Regions from separate parts of the Homo sapiens genome. Here regions 2 and 3 are each linked to region 1. The links are contacts of gene promoters, found by promoter capture Hi-C in blood cells and fetal thymus (Javierre and others, 2016). All regions are on one chromosome and are shown on one strand. Each heading gives the region's core, a stretch centred on a gene start or on the middle of the fragment in contact. The rest is flanking DNA. Distances are from core to core; before and after follow the strand shown. Region 1 holds the start of ITGA2B (integrin subunit alpha 2b). Region 2 holds the start of HROB (homologous recombination factor with OB-fold). Region 3 holds the start of ASB16 (ankyrin repeat and SOCS box containing 16).

Region 1 (3,868 bases), core at 174-2,673:
CACAACCTCCCAGGCAGGAATGGGCCAGCTCCTCCTCCTTCCCTTCAGATTCCTCCACAGGAAGTCTTTTCTTATCAAACTGGAACCCCAAGTAACTTGCTGAGCAACGGGCAGAGCAAAGGGCTATAGCCCCTGGACTCATGGTGGCTAGAATTGCCAGGAAGTGGGTGAGGCCACCCAGAGGGTGGATGCTCATGGCTGAAAGCCATGACTCCTCCCCTTTCCTGAGAATAGTTTATTACCATGTCCTATTGGTTCTGCCTATCAATGATGTCTCTTGAATCTTTACCCCATCTCTACTACCACCGTGCTAGTCCAAGCCACCATCACTTTCTGCTTGGGATAGCGTGATTGTGAACTGGTCCATACTTGTCTACTCTAGCCTACAGTTCTAATCTCCTCCCTTCCCCCATCTGGCTGTACAGCTGTGGTGCTTTGTGACTTGGCCACAGGTCGGGGAAGGAGAAGGAAGCTGCTGCCCCCGATAAAACCTGAGGCTTCTGTATCTTTTTGGATATGGCATTTACCCACTTCCTCCTTCTAGGACCTTGGGCGGCCTCAACCAGCCATATTGGTGCAGCAGCTTCCTCACTCCTCCTCCGTCTTGAGCCAAGCTTTAGTGTGGCCACAGCAGTGCAGTCAGTGCTGGGGACAGGGTGGTGAATGGACCTTGGTCTAGGTGGCAAGGAGATTGGGGATAAAGTGGAGTTATTCCAGGGAATTTTGACTCACAGTTTCTGAGATTATGCATTAGCTGTTCAGTTGAAGGTAGGCCCTCAATCCTTTTTGGGTGATGGAGCTCTTTAACCATTAAGACTTGATTCTGGTTGGGGGCTTTGCCTAGGGGAGCCTTCCCTGACTCCTCAGGCTGGCCGCGTGGGCTAACACACGTAGGCACAGCATTGAGCACACTGTTTACTCTTGGTCCGTTCACAGGATTGTGTAAATGAGTCCCTTGGGAGCAAGGCTCCTTGCTACAGCCCTAGAGACTACCCAAGAGTCCAATGTGTAGTACGTGTATTGCTGAAAGACTGGATGGAAACACACACTAAGGATGGAAGATGCAAACATAGGGTGACAAAGTGAAGGGATGAGTTTTGAGCAGAAAGGCAAAGTCATTTTCTCTCGGTAAGCGGAAGAGGAGGAGTGCCAAGTCTTACTGGCACTCATGCCTTCCCAAAAAAGCAGGTTCTCAGGAAGATTTAAGAGGTCCGCTAGGGGTAACCATAGCCACATTTTCCTTTTGATTTCTATTTTCTGATCAAACTTAACCATTGCCGTATCCTGCTCAACCACCCTGTACCATTTTGAAGTCCCCTCGTAATTTACTACCTCAGCCTAGAGTTAAGAATCTTATCCTTTATAGGACAGGAAGCTAAAAGCCTGAACTTTGGTCTGGGCCTTCTTCATTGCTGAGTTCCCAGTGTCAAGTACATGGGAGGCGTGTAATTAATGTATTTGCTTGAACGAATACTTAACCCAGTCCTCTACTTACCTTCTATCCTCCCACTGTCCTCAGGTGAGTGATTGCTGTATTACTGGTGTATTCTGTGAGGCCAAATATGAACTTACATTTCACTCAAGTTTTCAATAAGTATTTACTCTGTTCAAGGCACTGTGTTGATAAAGGATACAAAGATAACCATTAGGCCAGGTATAGTGGCTCATGCCTGTAATCCCAGCACTTTGGGAGGCTGAGGCAGGAGGATGGCTTGAGCTCAGGCATTTAAGACCAGCCTAGGCAATACAGTGAGACCTCGTCTCTATTTTAAAATTATAAAAAATAAAATATTTTAAAAACTCCAAAGATAGCCATCAAGGAGACTTAACAAACAGCCCAGAAAGAGTTAAGACATGAACACACATAACTGCAGCAGAGAGACAGTCAAGCATGCCTTGAAAAATACACAGATTATCAAAGTCGTATATCATTGTTACTCATAACAACCCTAGGAAATAAGTACTATTATGCCCATTTTATAAACACAAAACTGTGGCACAAGAGTTTTAGGTAAATTGCCCATGTTTACGCAGCCAACAGATGGCAAAACTAAGATTCAAACATGGGTTGCACTTGAACTCATGTTCAAGTTGCCTTTTGTCAGAGAATGAAAGGGTTTTTAGGCATAGAGAATACATGAGAGCAGCAAAGGAACACAGAGGTAGGGAAGGACAAGTAGTTGACTCAGCATAGCAGAATGCTTAAAGGGTTGGACTGAGGCGCAAGGGGGTAAAGCTTGGGGATTCAAATTACTGGAGGTCCTTGAATGCCATATTAAGGAATCTGAACTTTAATCCATGGGGGATGGAAAATCATAAAGATTTTAGCCGGGCATGGTGGCTCATGCCTGTAATCCCAGCACTTTGGGAGGCCCAGGCGAGTGGACCACAAGGTCAGGAGTTTGAGACCAGCCTGGCCAACCTAGTGAAACCCCGTCTCTACTAAAAATACAAAAATTAGCTGGGCGTGGTGGTGTGTGTCTGTAATCCCAGCTACTTGGGAGGCTGAGGCAAAAGAATTGCTTGAACCTGTGAGGCGGAGGTGGCAGTGAGCTAAGATCATGCCACTGCACTCCAGCCTGGGCGACAGAGTGAGACTCCATCAAAAAAGAAAAAAAGAAAGAAAGAAAAGAAAAATAAAATTATAAAGATTTTTTACACCAGGTTTGGTGGCTCATGCCTGTAACCCTAGCACTTTGGGAGGCCAAGATGAGGATTGCTTGAAGCCAGGTGTTTGGGACCAGCCTGGGCAACATAGTGAGACCCTGTCTCTACAAAAAAATTAAAATTAGCCAGGCACGGTAGTGCACACCTGTAGTTCCAGCTACTGAGGAGGCCGAGGCAGGAGAATCACTTGAGCCCACGAGTTTTAGGTTACAGTGCACTACGATTTTGCCACTCCACTCCAGCCTGGGCAAGAGTAAGACTATGCCTAAAAAACAATTTTTTTTTTTTTTTTTTTTTTTTTTGCTGGGCATGGTGGCTCACACCTGTAATCTCCCAACACTTTGGGAGGCCAAGGTGGGCGGATCGCTTGAGGCCAGGAGTTTGAGATCAGCCTGGCCAACATGGCAAAACCCTGTCTCTACTAAAAATACAAAAATTAGCCGGGTGTGGTGGTGCACACCTATAATCTCAGCTGCTTGGGAGGCTGAGGAAGAATTGCTTGAACCTGGGAGACGGAGGTTGCGGTCAGCCGAGATCGTGCCATCACACTCCAGCCTGGGCAACAAGAGCAAAATTCCATCTCAAAAAACCCAAAAAACCAAAAACCAAAAAACACATTTTTGAATTTTTTTTGGCTCAATTCTGATGCACAATCCTCAGTTAATGATATTTTACTTGGCTCATATTCTTTTTATTTTTGAGACAGGATCTTGCTCTGTCACCCAGGCTGTAGTACAGTGACCTGAACATGGCTCACTACAGACTTGACCCCTGGGCTCAAGCAGTCCTCCCACATCAGCTTCATGAATAGCTGGGACCACAGGCTTGTGCCACCATGCCCAGCTAATTTTTAAATTGTTTTGTAGAGATGGGGTCTTGCTATGTTACCCAGGTTGGCCTCGAATTTCTGAGCTCAAGAGATCCTCCTGCCTTGGCCTCCCAAAGTACTGGGATTATAGGCATGAGACACTGTGCCTGGCCACTTTGCTCATATTCTTGAACATATAATCAAAATGTTTACTATGTATTCAGTGTGAGATACGTTGGGGGCTGCGGTGGGGGGATATAAGAATCACTCCCTGTTCTCTCAGAGATTACAATTTTACTGGGAAGCAATGAATACAAAATGAGCTGCATTCAGATTCTGAAAAGCCAGTAAGCTTACACAGAACAGGAAATTAGGTTCTAGTCAGGAAGGCCA
Region 2 (4,482 bases), core at 647-3,146, 250 kb before region 1:
TCAGTCCCCTGAGTAGCTGGGATTACAGGCGCCCGCCACCATGCCCGGCTAATTTCTTTTTTTTTTTTTTTTAGACGGAGTCTTGCTTTGTTGCCCAGGCTGGAGTGCAGTGGCGTGATCTCGGCTCACTGCAAGCTCCGCCTTCCGGGTTCATGCCATTCTCCTGCCTCAGCTTCCCAAGTAGCTGGGACTACAGGCGCCCGCCACCACACCCGGCTAATTTTTTTGTATTTTTAGTAGAGACGGGGTTTCACCATGTTAGCCAGGATGGTCTCGATCTCCTGCCCTTGTGATCCGCCCGCCTCTGCCTCCCAAAGTGCTGAGATTACAGGCAAGAGCCACCGCGGAAGTGAGCATTGAGTTGCCCAGCCATTCGCACTCCCTCCTGACAAATGGCATCAAGTCATTCAACAAACACTTGTTCAGCCTGGGCAACATAGGGAGCCTTCATCTCTACAACAAATAAACATAAAAAAATTAGCTGGGCTTAGGCCAGGCACAGTGGCTCACGTTTATAATCCCAGCACTTCGGGAGGCCAATGCGGGTGGATCACGAGGTCAGGTGTTCAAGACCAGCCTGGGCAACATAGTGAAACCCTGTCTCTACTAAAAATACAAAAAGTTAGCTGGGCGTGGCTGGGCGCAGTGGTTCACGTCTGTAATCCCAGCACTTTGGGAGGCAGAGGCGGGCAGATTACCTGAGGTCAGGAGTTCGAGACCATCCTGGCCAACATGGTGAAACCCTGTCTCTACTAAAAATACAAAAAATTAGCTGGGCGTGGCTGGGCGCAGTGGCTCACGTCTGTAATCCCAGCACTTTGGGAGGCAGAGGCGGGCAGATTACCTGAGGTCAGGAGTTCGAGACCAGCCTGGCCAACATGGTGAAACCCTGTCTCTACTAAAAATACAAAAATTAGCCAGGCATGATGGCACATGCCTGTTATCCCAGCTACTCGGGAGGCTGAGGCAGGAGAATTGCTTGAGCCTAGGAGGAAGAGGTTGCAGTGAGCCGAGATCATGCCACTGCACTGCAGCCTGTCCTGCAGAGCGAGACTGTCTCAAAAAAAAAAAAAAAAAAAAAAAATTAGCCGGGCGTGGTGGCGGGCACTTGTAATCCCAGCTACTTGGTAGGCTGAAGCAGGAGAATCGCTTGAACCTGAGAGGCAGAGGTTGCAGTGAGCCAAGATCGTGCCACTGCACTCCAGCCTGGGCAACAATGTGAGACTCCGTGTCAAAAAAAAAAAAAGTTAACTGGGTTTGGTGGTGTGTGCCTGTGATCCCAGCTACTCAGGAGGCTGAGGTGGGAGGACTGCTTGGGCCCAAGAGGTGGAGGATGCAGTGAGCCATGACTGTGCCGCTGCACTCCGGGCTGGGTAAGGGAGTAAAGTAAGTCTCAAAACAAAAACAAACTCATTTTCTGAGTGTCTTCAATGTGCCACATGCTGGTTCACAAAGGTGAAAAGCCACAGTCTTGCTCTGAAGCAGTATTAAGTCAAGCAGGGAGGCCGGGCGCCATGGCTTACGCCTGTAATCCCAGCTACTTCGAAGGCTGAGGCAGGAGAATCGCTTGAACCCGGGAGGCGGAGGTTGCAGTGAGCCGAGATCGCGCCACTGCACTCCAGCCTGGGCGACAGAGCGAGATTCGGTTTAAAAAAGAAAAAAAAAAAAGAACGGAAAAGAAAGGGGCGGGGGCAGGATTAGGCATCGTGGGGCCAAGATGCTTGATCTCACCTGAACCAGTGCTGAACCAGCCGACTGGGAAGAGGAGCCGCTTGGGGGCGACCGAGAGCCCATCCGTTTCCCCTTTAAGACCAGAGCGGAAGACTACAGTGAGAAGGCCCTTTGTGTCGGCGGGAAAGAAATATGCCTGCCCCTTTAAGAAGGCGGAGACGCCCCAGTGGCGGCGTCTTCGAATGCGGCCTAAGGCGCCTGCCGCCAGTCTCCTGGCGACTTTCCCTATATCGCAGAGACTCATCCCTCTGACCCCAGCCCGGAAGCACTGTCCCTCGGAGTCCGAGACTTCCACCTGGGTCGTGTCCAAGGCCCCGGCGACTCCCCGGACTCGGGGTGCCGGGCCAACCTCCCCGCCGAGGCCCACCCGCCGTCGCTATGGTAATGCCGCGCCCAGCTTGGGGGCTGGCGGGCCGCAGGGCCCCCTGGCCTCCGGAACTGCTCATGGGGTTCCAGCCCCTCGCCCGCGCAAGTTGCAGGACCGGGGTCTGGGTGGGGGTTCGGCGGAGTCGGGAGACCTGGGCTGTCGTCAGGGCTTGTCATGGACGCGCCGGAGACCCTGAGAAAGCATTCTCCTCCCCCGGGCCTCAGTTTCCCTCCTGTTGCCTTCCTACCCTCCTGGGAAACCCCCCTTTCCAGTGCGCTCAGACGTCACTACCGCTTGGGTCCATCCCTTTCCCCTCCCCGCCCCACACTTTCTACTTTTTTTTTTTTTTTTTTTGGACGAAGTCTCGTTCTGTCGCCCAGGCTGGAGTGCAGTGGCGTGATCTCTGCTCACTGCAACCGTCGTCTCCCGCCCACCCCTTTCACTCTGACCCTTAGAGTCTTGGGAACTGTATCGCCAGCTGTAGCTCCTGCGGCTCTGGCATCTGGGGTTAGGCACCACCTCTGATCTGGGTTTGACACTCATCAGGAACTGGCTACAGCAGCCCTGCTGGCTAGAAAGAAGGAACCGTGGACTGGGGCATCCTACTCTCCTGGGACCCTAGTTTTTGGGCCTTGGATTAGGTAGGGAAACTACTGGCTTCATTTGCAGAAACAATGCCACTGTGCAGACATGTTTGGATTTATGGTAGTTTCTCTTATGTTTGACATAAGATTGGTCAGGCGAAACCTTTGGGATATTGCAAAATCCTTAGGCCCAAGCCAGGGGCCGTGGCTGACACCTGTTTTTGTTTGTTTGTTTTTTTGAGACAGAGTCTCACTCTGTGGCCCAGGCTGAAGTGCAGTGGTGCGATCTCCGCTCACTGCAACCTCCACTTCCCAGGTTCAAGCAATTCTCCTGCCTTAGACTCCCAACAAGCTGGGATTACAGGCGGGCACCACCACCCCAGCTAACTTATTTCTATTTTTAGTAGAGACGAGGTTTCACTTTGTTGGCCAGGCTGTTCTTGAACTCCTGGCCTCAGGTGGTCCACCCGCCTTGGCGTCACAAAGTGCTGGGATTACAGGAGTGAGCCACCATGCCCAGCCTGTGGCTGACACCTATAATCCCAGCACTTTGGAGGCCACAGTGGGAGGATCACTTGAGCCCAGGAGTTCAAGACTGGCCTGGGCAATGTAGTGAGGCCCCGTATCTATAAAAATTTAAAAATTAGCCTGGGCGCAGTGGCTCACGCCTGTAATCCCAGCACTTTGGGAGGCTGAGGTGGGCAGATCACAAGGTCAGGAGTTCAAGACCAGCCTGGCTAACATGGTGAAACCCTGTCTCAACTAAAAATACAAAAAAAAATAGCCAGGCATTGTGGCTTGGCCTGTAATCCCAGCTACTTGGGAGGCTAAGGCAGGAGAATTGCTTGAACCTGGAAGGTGGAGGTTGCAGTGAGCCAAAATCGTGCCGCTGGACTTCAGCCTGGGCAACAGAGCAAGACTCCGTCTCAGGAAGAAAAAAAAAAAAAGAAAATTAGCTGAGCACGGTGGTGCACACCTGTAGTCCCAGTTACTCAGGAGGTTGAGGTGGGAGGGTCACTTGAGCCTAGGAGATTGAGGCTGCAGTGAGCTATGATCTTGCCACTGCACTCCAGTCTGGGCAATAGGGCAAGACCCTGTCTCAAAACAAAAGACAAAAACAAAATGTTTACGCCCATGTGCACAGTCCTGGAGAACTGCCCTTGCTCCCCTAGGCAGCCTTCCCTTTGCCCCCTTTCTTCCCTTCCAGGATTAGTGCAGATGGTTCTGAGTGGATTATGTTACAAGAAAGTTTTTTAATCTTTCTTTCCTTTTTTTTTTTTAAGACAGAGTCTTGCTCTGTCGCCCAGGCTGGAGTTCAGTGGTGCAATCTTGGCTCACTGCAACCTCTACCTCCCGGGTTCAAGCAATTCTCCTGCCTTAGCCTTCCAAGTAGCTGAGATCACAGGCATGCTCCACTAGGCCCGGCTAATTTTTTTTTTTTTAAAGACAGAGTCTTGCCCTGTCGCCCAGGCTGGTGTGCAGTGGTGCGATCTCGGCTCACTGCAACCTCTGCCTCCCAGTTCAAGCGATTCTCCTGCCTCAGCCTCCTGAGTAGCTGGGATTACAGATGCCCACCACCACGCCCAGCTAATTTTTTGTATTTTTAGTAGAGACAGGGTTTCAATATGTTGGCCAGGCTGGTCTCGAACGCCTGACCTTGTGATCCGCCCCCACCTCAACCTCCCAAAGTTCTGAGATTATAGGTGTGAGCCACCACGCCCGACCAAATTTTGTATTTTAAGTAGAGATGGGGTTTCACTGTGTTGGTCAGGCTGGTCTTGAACTCCTGACCTCAGGTGA
Region 3 (4,482 bases), core at 633-3,132, 220 kb before region 1:
AACACTTTGGGGGGCCGAGGCGGGCAGATCGCCTGAAGTCAGGAGTTTCAGACCAGCCTGGCCAACATGGCGAAACCGACTACTAAAAATACAAAAATCGGCCGGGCGCGGTGGCTCACGCCTGTGATCCCAGCACTTTGGGAGGCCGAGGCGGGCGGATCACGAGGTCAGGAGATCGAAACCATCCTATTCTTGGCTAATACGGCGAAACCTTGTCTCTACTAAAAATACAAAAAATTAGCCAGGTGTGGTGGCAGGCGCCTGTGGTCCCAGCTACTCGGGAGGCTGAGGCAGGAGAATGGCGTGAACCCGGGAGGCGGAGCTTGCAGTGAGCCGAGGTCGCGCCACTGCACTCCAGCCTGGGTGACAGAGCGAGACTCCATCTCAAAAAAAAAATAATAATAAATAAAAATACAAAAATCAGCTGGGCATGGTGGCATGCACCTATAATCCCAGCTACTCAGGCAGCTAAGGCAGGAGAATCACTTGAACCCCAGGAAACGGAGGTTTCAGTGAGCCGAGATCACCCCACTGCACTCCAGACTGGGTGACACCATGAGAAAAAAAAAAAAAGGATGATTGAAGGCAGTTTCTACAGACTAGTCTGTCCTGCTTGGAGAATGGGGGAGGCTGCCAGGTGGCTGCAGCAGCTGAAGGCAAAAAGTGTACCATCTTTTTTTTTTTTTCTTCTTTTTTTAAGAGATGGAGAGGCAGGGGGTGGTGGCTCACGCCTATAATCCTAGCACTTTGGGAGGCCGAGGCGGGCAGACCACGAGGTCAGGAGTTCGAGACCAGCCTGGCCAACATGGTGAAACCCTAAATTAAATCTCTACTAAAAATACAAAATTTAGCTGGGCATGGTGGCGGGTGCCTATAATCCCAGCTACTCAGGAGGCTGAGGCAAGAGAATCGTTTGAGCCCGGGAGGCGGAGGTTGCAGTGAGCCAAGATCGTGCCATTGCACTCCAGCATGGGAGACAGGGTGAGACTCTGTCTCAAAAAAAAAAAAAAAAAAAAAAAAGATATAGGTCTCACTGTGTTGCCCAGGATTGTCTCAAACTCCTAGGCTCAAGCAATCCTCCTGTCTTGGCCTCCCAAAGTGCTAGGATTACAGGCATGAGCCACCATTCTTGGCCCAAAGCACACCATCTATGTGGGGTCCTGGCTCTGCCTCTCACAAACTGTGACCTTGAGCCAGTAGATTACTTTGTTAAGCCTTAAATTCCTCATCTGTAAAACAGAGATAAGACCACCCATCTCAGGGGCATTCAACTGTGATAATTTCATTTATTGTCCAAACCAAGTTTACTAATTATTGGGTGGGCTGGGAAGTATGATCCCCTGGGTGAAGGTGGATATGAATGTGATTTAAACACCGTGAAACTCTGTGCATATGTACAGAGTTATTGCTGTTACTGCAGATGCTGGGAAGAGCTGCTCACCTTCTCAGTAACTCTGCCTTGACCTCCCCTTACCTCCTGTGCTGAGGTCAGCCCTCTCTCCTCCACGTGGGCCAATGGTGGCTCCTGCCCTCCAGCCAACATCAGAGAGGCTGGAGGCACCTTGTCTTCCTCCCAGCCCTGCCCATCTCCATGACTGACCTTTTTGCGCACCCTGGACCTTGCCAACCCAAGATGCTCGCTCTAGAGATGAAGGTGGATGCAGATGCTGGGGTTCGGGGGTGGCCTCAGCTGAGGGCCTGCTGACCAACCAAAGGGTATCGGCAGGGGCAGGGGCTGGCCCTCACCCTGGGCTGGGGGTTGGGCCAGCAGCTTCTCAGCACCAGGATCATGACTCTGAGCAAACCATGTTTACCAGAGCAGCAAAGGACCTATTTATAGCCTCAGCTGCTGCTTTCTCTGGCTCACGGTGGCGGGGGCAGGGTGGCTCCTCAGAGCAAGGGAGGTAGTCGGGTCGAGGGAACCTGGCTCTGCCCAGGTGCCACTGCCCAAACCCCTGGGCCCCATCCATGGCAAGAGAGACCTTCCCCTTCACCTCCTCCATGCTGCGCTCTCTCCGCCTGCAGCAGGAGTGGCTGGAATGGGAGGACCGGCGGCGGGCGGCTGCCCAGCAGTGCCGGAGCCGCAGGTGCCCGTCAAGTCCCCGGGCCCGACTCACTAGGCCTCACCGTTCCTGCCGAGACCCAGCTGTCCACCAAGCCCTCTTCTCCGGCAACCTGCAGCAGGTCCAAGCCCTGTTCCAAGATGAAGAGGCCGCCAACATGATTGTGGAGACTGTGAGCAACCAGCTGGCCTGGTCGGCTGAACAGGGTAGGGGGCACCAGAAGAGGGCAGAAGAGGAGGGAGAAAGAAGGGGAGTGGGTGGGGAAGGGGGAGAGTCTAGGCCCCTCCTTCCCTGCAGACCACAGACTATAGCAGCCCTTTCCACCACCTATCCTAGCTCCCTCCTAAACAGAGATGAGGCAGGGTTAGCAGTCTGTATGTCTTTTAAGAATTAAAAGTTGACCGGGCACAGTGGCTCACGCCTGTAATCCCAGCACTTTGGGAGGCCAAGGCAGGCGGATCACGAAGTCAGAAGTTTGAGACCAGCCTGACCAACATGGTAAAACCCCATCTCTACTAAAAATAGAAAAATTAGCCGGGCATGGTGGTGCGCACCTGTAATCCCAGCTACTCAGCAGCTGAGGCAGAAGAATCACTTAAACCCGGGAGGCGGAGCTTGCAGTGAGCCAAGATAGCGCCACTGCATTCCAGCCTGGGGGACAGAGCGAGACCCTGCCTAAAAAAAAAAAAAAAAGAGACAAGGTCTCACTATGTTGCCCAGGCTCATCTCGAACTCCTGAGGTCAAGTGATCATCCCGCCTTGGCCTCCCAAAGTGCTAGGATTACAGGTGTGAGCCACCACCCCAGGCCCCAAGGTGAACAAGCCTTTGACACTATTAGCCATTCAAAGACGCTGAGATTTCCTTAATGGGAGTCACTCTACTTAGTTGGCCCCTGTGGTTTTATACAGCAATTAATTTTTTTATGACACATACTATGTTTTGTTACAGATTGATAAGCTGTATTAAAAGGCTGTTCCAATTTATTCTTCCACTTCAGGACTTGAATAAGCCCCCTTCCACAGGTACAGCCTGGCAGTGTTTGTGCTCAGCAAACCATGCAGAGGGAAGGCCAGTGTCAGCTGTCAGCTGGAACCAGCATCCCCACTCCCTGCCCTGCCCTGTCTTATACACCACCTCCCAAAACTATTTGCTCTCCCTAGGGTTCTGGGTGCTGACCCCCAAGACCAAGCAGACGGCACCCCTCGCCATCGCTACAGCCCGAGGCTACACAGACTGTGCTCGACACCTGATCCGGCAGGGAGCTGAGCTGGATGCCCGTGTCGGGGGTCGCGCTGCCTTGCATGAGGCCTGTGCCCGAGCCCAGTTTGACTGTGTGCGGCTGCTGCTGACCTTCGGAGCCAAGGCTAATGTGCTGACTGAGGAGGGCACGACTCCTTTGCACCTCTGCACGATCCCCGAGTCCTTGCAGTAGGTGCCTGGGGGCTGAGACAGTTTGGGGAGAAATGTGTGTGTGTGTCTCCAGCTCACAAGGCCAGAAGAGGGAACCTGACAACCACATGCAGCTTTGTGGTTCATAAAGCACCGCATATACACATCTTCACAATAACCTGGAGACACCTCATCCTACAGATGAGAAAAATGAAGCTCAGAAAGGCTTAGTAACTTGTCCAAGGTCACATCTGCTAAGCCCAGGAGGCAGAAGCCCTGTTGCTTTTTGGGAAAACTCTGTTCCAACTGCAGTCTCCAATACCCTGTGAATCCTTTGTAGCCAAACCTAGCTGTTTTTTTTTGTTTTTTGAGACGAAGTCTTGCTCTGTTGCCCAGGCTGTAGTGCAGTGGCGTGGTCTCAGCTCACTGCAACCTCTGCCTCCTGGGTTCAAATGCCTCAGCCTCCCAAGTAGCTGGAATTACAGGTGTGTGCCACCACACCTGGCTAGGTTTTGCATTTCTAGTGGAGATGGGGTTTTGCCATGTTGGCCAGGCTGGTCTTGAACTCCTGTCCTCAAGTGATCCACCCACCTTGGCCTCCCAAAGTGCTGGGATTACAGGCGTGAGCCACCATGCCCAGCCCAAATTCCTAGTTGTTTTGAGGTATTAAGAAAGATCTGGCCAGGTGTGGTGGCTCACACCTGTAATTCCAGCTACTAGTAGGTCGAGGCACAAGAATCGCTTGAACCCGGGAGGCAGAGGTTGCAGTGAGCCGAGATTCTGCCACTGCACTCCAGCGAGACTGTCTTAAAAAAAAAAAAAAAAAAAAAAAAGCCGGGCGCCATGGCTCACGCCTGTAATCCCAGCACTTTGGGAGGCTGAGGCGGGTGGATCACGAGTTCAGGAGTTCAAGACCAGCCTGGCCAACATAGTGAAACCCCGTCTCTATTAAAAATACAAAAAATTAGCCAGGCTGGGCATGGTGGCTGGCGCCTGTAATCCTAGCTACTCGGGAGGCTGAGGCAGGAG

What was found. The method cuts DNA at HindIII sites, captures the fragments that hold promoters and counts their contacts. A CHiCAGO score of 5 or more calls a contact.
Region 2: a contact is called between the fragment with the promoter of HROB here and a fragment that was not itself captured in region 1, in 1 of 17 cell types (erythroblasts). The highest score is 5.5, in erythroblasts.
Region 3: a contact is called between the fragment with the promoter of ASB16 here and a fragment that was not itself captured in region 1, in 2 of 17 cell types (neutrophils and erythroblasts). The highest score is 5.5, in neutrophils.

The regions. Positions count from the first base shown.
Region 1 is chr17:44,389,485-44,393,352 of GRCh38, forward strand. It overlaps ITGA2B (integrin subunit alpha 2b), which reads right to left and starts at 165. Exons shown (of 30, transcript NM_000419.5): 1 at 1-165. RefSeq lists an enhancer at 322-381. The HindIII fragment of the contact is 1,622 bases long and covers 613-2,234 here.
Region 2 is chr17:44,140,034-44,144,515 of GRCh38, forward strand. HROB (homologous recombination factor with OB-fold) reads left to right here and starts at 1,897. Exons shown (of 10, transcript NM_001171251.3): 1 at 1,897-2,112. The coding sequence starts at 2,110. RefSeq lists an enhancer at 1,652-1,821 and silencers at 2,122-2,181, 2,428-2,722. The HindIII fragment of the contact is 21,085 bases long and covers 1-4,482 here.
Region 3 is chr17:44,168,822-44,173,303 of GRCh38, forward strand. It overlaps ASB16 (ankyrin repeat and SOCS box containing 16), which reads left to right and starts at 1,883. Exons shown (of 5, transcript NM_080863.5): 1 at 1,883-2,269; 2 at 3,225-3,492. The coding sequence starts at 1,969. The HindIII fragment of the contact is 23,995 bases long and covers 1-4,482 here.